2 separate regions of the Homo sapiens genome follow, and region 1 is linked to region 2. The links are contacts of gene promoters, found by promoter capture Hi-C in human tissues and cell types (Jung and others, 2019). All regions are on one chromosome and are shown on one strand. The core of a region is centred on a gene start or on the middle of the fragment in contact, and the rest is flanking DNA. Distances in the headings are between cores, read along the strand shown. Region 1 overlaps GALNT7 (polypeptide N-acetylgalactosaminyltransferase 7). Region 2 holds the start of SAP30 (Sin3A associated protein 30).

Evidence for each region. Contacts are between HindIII fragments. The study calls those that stand out against the background at their distance.
Region 1: a fragment that was not itself captured here is called in contact with the fragment with the promoter of SAP30 in region 2 in 4 of the 25 tissues and cell types used here (aorta, mesenchymal stem cells, mesendoderm cells and 1 more).

Annotation. Positions count from the first base shown.
Region 1 is chr4:173,284,949-173,287,648 of GRCh38, reverse strand. The region is part of intron 2 of GALNT7 (polypeptide N-acetylgalactosaminyltransferase 7); the gene reads right to left. It overlaps LOC124900812 (a long non-coding RNA gene), which reads left to right. Exons shown (of 3, transcript XR_007058367.1): 1 at 1-2,700. Among named protein-coding and RNA genes, the nearest start is that of MIR548T, 18 kb to the right of the region's middle. The HindIII fragment of the contact is 4,128 bases long and covers 1-2,700 here.
Region 2 is chr4:173,369,523-173,372,222 of GRCh38, reverse strand. It overlaps SAP30 (Sin3A associated protein 30), which reads right to left and starts at 1,269. Exons shown (of 4, transcript NM_003864.4): 1 at 726-1,269. The coding sequence starts at 1,040. SAP30-DT (SAP30 divergent transcript) reads left to right here and starts at 1,525. Exons shown (of 4, transcript NR_183973.1): 1 at 1,525-1,931; 2 at 2,613-2,700. RefSeq lists enhancers at 159-458, 162-725, 1,809-2,048 and silencers at 579-958, 1,239-1,408. The HindIII fragment of the contact is 15,433 bases long and covers 1-2,700 here.

The DNA.
Region 1 (2,700 bases), core at 130-2,629, 85 kb after region 2:
TGGGGCGGCACCTATGAAGGATGGTCACTGGGACCCAAAGGACGGGAGGAAGGGGGTGAAGGGGGATGCCCCTCCAGCCTTTCCCTCCATCTTGGGTCACTCTGAAGAGAAGGAGACTGAGGGATGCCTCTTCTCTTGCCTCTTTTCTACATGGATAACACCCCATCTTCAAGTCTGCACTACCCCTGAGTGCAGCCTGGATCTCCTTTAGTCCTCAGACCCTAAAGTTCACTCGGGGCAAGCCCCAACTTCACTGCCGTATAGAGGCCTTCCAAGATTTAACCCAAGTATTTAAACTCTCCTGGATGTTCCAGGGATGGAGAAGCAAGTGGGGAAAATACCAGTGCCCTTGGAGGACCATAAATGGGACCATGATGATAGCATCAGAAAATGGGGAAGGAAACTCTTTCAAATGTGTATATTGGAGAACTTGCAGGGGATTAGAGCCAAACCTATTAACTCTTCCAAGCTTTCCATGATAGTCCAAAAGCTAAATAAAAATCTTTAAACCTTTTTATTCAATAAAGAACAGGTTTATTACTCAGACAGCCCTTAATATGGGAAGAAAGTTGCTGAAACAGGCCCTGTCCAAAGATCTAATTTTTCTCACCCTCGAGTTGAAACTTTGCAGTACATAAATAACACTCTCCTCTGTCCCCCAACCAAGGAAGTCTCAGGGAGGCACTGAGGCTCTCTTCAGTTTCTTAGCTGAAAGGGGATATAGGGTCTGAAAATCTAAAGCTTGGCTCTGTCAGACTTCAGTAAAGTACCTAGGTCTAGTCTTATCAGAAGGGACTAGAGCATCAGGTGAAGAAAGGATGCCCATTTCCTTTAACAGTTGAGGGGATTCTTAGGCATTAGTGGATTTTGCAGACTGTGTGTACCTGGATACCGTGAAATAGCTTGCCCTTTATACCACCTCATAACGAAACTCAAGCAGTTAAAACTCACTCACTAACTTGGGAACCTGCCTTTAACCAACTAAAGCAAGCCTTACTTAAAGCATCAACCCCCAGTCTTCCCAAAGGAAAAGCATTCAGTCTCTATGCTTCAGAAAAGAAGGAAATGGCCCTGGGAATTCTGGCTGAAGCTTGAGGTCCAGCTCAACAGCCAGTGGGTTACCTAAGTGAGGAACTTAACTTGGTGGCTAAAGGCTGGTTAGCCTGCCTCTAAGCAGTTACAATGGCAGCTTTGTTGGTGCCAGAGGCCACTGGGTTACCCATGGGAAACAACTGTTTACAACCCATACAATATAGCAGGAGTGCTGCCCTCTAAGGAAAGTCCCTGGCTAACAGACAATCGCCTCCTTAACTATCAAGCTTTGCTACTGGAGGGATCTGTGGTCCAGAGGAAAACCTGCCCTTGCTAGAGCCGAGCCATTTTCTCCCAAAGGAAACTGGAGAACTTGAACATGATTGTGAAAAGGTAGTGGTGCAAACCAGTAAAAGGAATGATGAAGATCACTGTTTACATTCTCTGTAAAATTTTAATTAATGAGAAAGGATTTTCTTAAAGAATGCTCAGCTTACCTCAAAGTGGATATCCGAGCTATGGGTATATGTAAAAGGCCTTTATGTTTTTCTCTTCATAGATCTTGTTTTTCTGGAAAAGGTTTTTTGTTGTTGTTGTTTTTTTTCAGTCAACTGAATTACTTTTTTCCACTGTGTCTTATCATTCTTGATGCATACGTGAAAGACCCTAGAATGACTTCTGGTGGCCTGGGACTCCCTGGGAAATAGATTAAGGTGCCACAAATCCCATTTTGGAGAAATCCCTGTTTTCCTCATGGAACCCCTGGAATTAGAGGTGGATAAGCCCCTCTCAACATCTGTCTTTGTCTTCTGGCTGTGCTTGTTTATTAAGCCCTGAAAACTATATTCATACCCCTGTTCGTAAAAGGGCTCCACCCTGAGCTGCTGGATCTTCTTCTGTCTGTCTGTGTAGTCATACATGTGATATATATGTGAAGTCTATAAAAAGGCCAATTAATTGGCCTAAGAATAATAAGCACTGAAATAAAATATTTTGCAGTAAAAGTAAAAGCTGTGGTACCTTTCAGTTCATATGACTTTAATATTTAAAATAAAAACAGACAAGAATTATTGGTAAAATACAAACGTCTTCAAGGTGTAAAAATGTGGTCTAATTTATTATGCAGGTCAGATACTAGCTTTGCTAAATGTTTTAAGGTTGCAAACTGCTTCTTTGGCCTTTTAAAAACTGTCAACTTGCCTGCTTCACAATTAGTATGGTCTGGGAACAAATAGAAGTGACCATGCTCCTAACTACGCTGAAAGGAATCAGACTTTATCTGCATCTAGCACATAATTAAAACAACTTACCAGGCTTTACATTAAAGTTAAAAATCGCTAAGAGTTACCATTATGACATGTAATTGAGACTACTGAACATGGATTTGCATGCAAGGTGTGTAAAAACAGCAAAATGTGTTTTTAGTTAAAAGATTATAAGAAGGCATGGAAATGTCCATTTTGCCTAGAGATAAAGGATTGTCTTAAATTAGATAAAATAAAGCAGAAGGTTTAAGCAAATTGTGAAAAGACTGTAAATATTAATCTTGCAAAGGAAACTATGTGTGTGAACATATTGACTAAATTCAAAAGGGTATTATATATTTTTTTCTGTAAATTAAACTTTGAAATAAAAGCACAACAAGGTTTTCTTACGATGCTGACCTAC
Region 2 (2,700 bases), core at 20-2,519:
ATCTCCCAAAAGTAGCAACGGCTGTTTCTAAAAACCTCATAGATGGTCAAACGAAAAGACGTGCAAAAAATCCTGATGGCTGCCAAGGGGATGGCAAAACCGCAGAGGCTACGTGCTCCCCACCATCGGAGTAGCTGCCCTCGGAGCTGACAGCGCAAACGCCGTTTACAACCCCGGCTCACTGCCAGGCGGCGGGTGAGCTCGGCTTCCCTCTCACTCCGCTCCGGAGGAGACGGAACACAGAAAAGAACAGGATCTTCCTTGTTCGTGAAGGTCCTCCGCTTTCTCCTAGACGACGGGATTTAGTACCGCCTGGGGCCAAACACCAGCTTGGGCAGCAAAACAAAGGCGCCTCCATTCCAGAAGAGCTGCCGGGCTGCAAGAAAACTACTCTGGGCCCTCAGTGCGCCGGTCCCCTTTGTTTCGTGTCCCGGTCGCAGAGGAGAAGGAAGAGGGAAGACTGCGCGGGAGAGACGCAGGCAGCGGGAGGTTGGGGGCCAGGGTGGGAAAGAAGAGGGGAACGACAGCCTGTGTGTGGTGTGTGTGTTGGGGTGGCGGTAGGAGTTGCAGCGACTTTGTTATTTGCTTCCAAACACAGACTCCACGAGACCGCACTGCAGCCAGTGCGGTTGTCTGGGGGACCCCGCCGACAACCCGTGCCTTTGCCCGGCTCCTGGGGCCCCACCGAGGGGCGGGAGGGCAGGGCGGTCCCGCGGTTTACTTACGCTCTTATCCAGCTCGATCTTCACCTTCTTCTGGGAGATGCTCTTCTGGATCCTCTTGCTGAAGCTGGCGTTGCCTGCCGCCCGGCCGCACCGCTCACCATCCTCCCGCAGGCAGCACAGTTGCCCGGGGCCCGGCCCGGCCGCCCCCGGGGGCCCAGCCGCTGAGACCGCCCCCGCGCCCGGCACCTCAGCCCCGGTGCCCGCGCCGGTCCCGTTCCCCGCCGAGGCGGCGGCGGCCGCGGCAGCGACCACTGCGGCCACTGCGGCGGCCGCATCCCCGCCGCGGCTCATCTCGTCAGGCGTGAAGCCGTTCATGTCTCCGAGCTCCCGAGGCCGGCGCTGACAGAAATCCCCTCTCTCCTGGCCGCTCCGCCTCTCTCCGCTCCGGCAGCGGCAATTCACTCTGCACACCAAGTTAGACAGCGGCACGGCCAAACACCAACTGTCCCGGGCCTGCTGGTCTCTGCTGGCACCGAAACAGTGGACAGTGCTGAGGGCCGGGACGCAGACTCGAGCGTCTCCTGGAGCGGGGACCCCGCTCACTGTCACATGGGGACTTCAGCAGTTGGACCGCTACGCCTCCGCCTCCCTCCGGCCCCGGGACCTGCGCAAGCGCGACGCGCCCCCTCCCGTCCCGCCCCTTTCTTTCTGCCGCGCGGCCCCATGGGAATTGTAGTTCTCTGCTGCAGAGTCAACCTGAGCTCCGCCCTGACCCCGCGCCATGAGGGACGGAGGAACTACTAATCCTAGCATGCATAGCGCGGCCACGGACCCACTTTTTTTTTTTTTTTTTTTTTTCAGTACCGGGAAAACAGGAGCGTGTGATTGGGGTTTACAGTGTTTTCTCTCGCTCTCTCTGTTTCTAGGGAATTCGGGCTGTGTTTAGCTGCTGGAATATCGTAGAATTGGTTTTCAGAGAAGTTCCTCGACTCCTGAGGCGAAACATAAAGGGATGGGAGTGGTGTGGGAAGTGATCGTGTGGGGAAAAAAAAGTTTCGAGCCCGTTTCGCATTTGTGGAGACAGAGTTTTTGGTGTGACCACTCTTTTGTGGGAAACCCAAACCAAGGAGAACTCAGGAGAATTGGCGCTCTTCGGTCCTGGAGGTTCCGCAGCTAACATCCCGGCTTGACCAACTATCGAGGCCGCAAATTAATAGGGCACCTCCTGGGAGGAAAACGCCCATCCTGACTTCTCAACTGTGACAGGTCCCCCTCACAAACGCCTTGCGGGGGGGTGGGGGGGCGTTTCTAAACACTTGCATGTTCTTACAAGGGAAATGTTTTTATTCTTGGGCGCACCAAGTTGGCCGCCTCCTGAGGTGGAGTACGGACCAGTTGACAACAGGGCTCCTTTTCACCTCCACGCCCAACCTTTTCCATTTCTCCTCAAACGGTTTTGGAGAAGGGCGGAGTCATATCATTTTAAAGGAAACTTGGAACCTCACCAATACAAACGCTGGTCGAATGTTCCCAGAAACTTCCCTGCATTAGCTCTACCGGGCGCGGGGAGCAGAAAGCGCATTTCCTGAGTCCTGAAAAGCGCGTGCGCGCCTGTGTGCTGCCGGCGTTTGGGCGCGCCTGCTTGTATGTATGTGTTCGCGGGCGCGCGCGTGTGTACGTGTGTGTGCGCGCGTACGCGTGTATGTTCCTGCGCGCTTGCGGGGACGTGCTTGTGGAGGGCGGAGAGAGGGATGGGCGTGGCTAATATGAAAGCTGCATCTTTACTAGTTAGCTACCATGCGTCATTATTTATCAAAAGATATATGCTGCTTAAACACAAATACGTTTTAAAATATATTTTAGGCAGTAGGGTTTTGGGTTTTTTTTTTGCAAGTTCTTTTGGTGAGTAAATTTAGTGATAAATGATTTTTTTTTCTTTTGAGACAGTTTGCTCTGTCGCCCAGGATGGAGTGCAGTGCAGTGGCGCGATCCTGCAACCTCCGCCTCTCGAGTTCAAGCGATTCTCCTGCCTCAG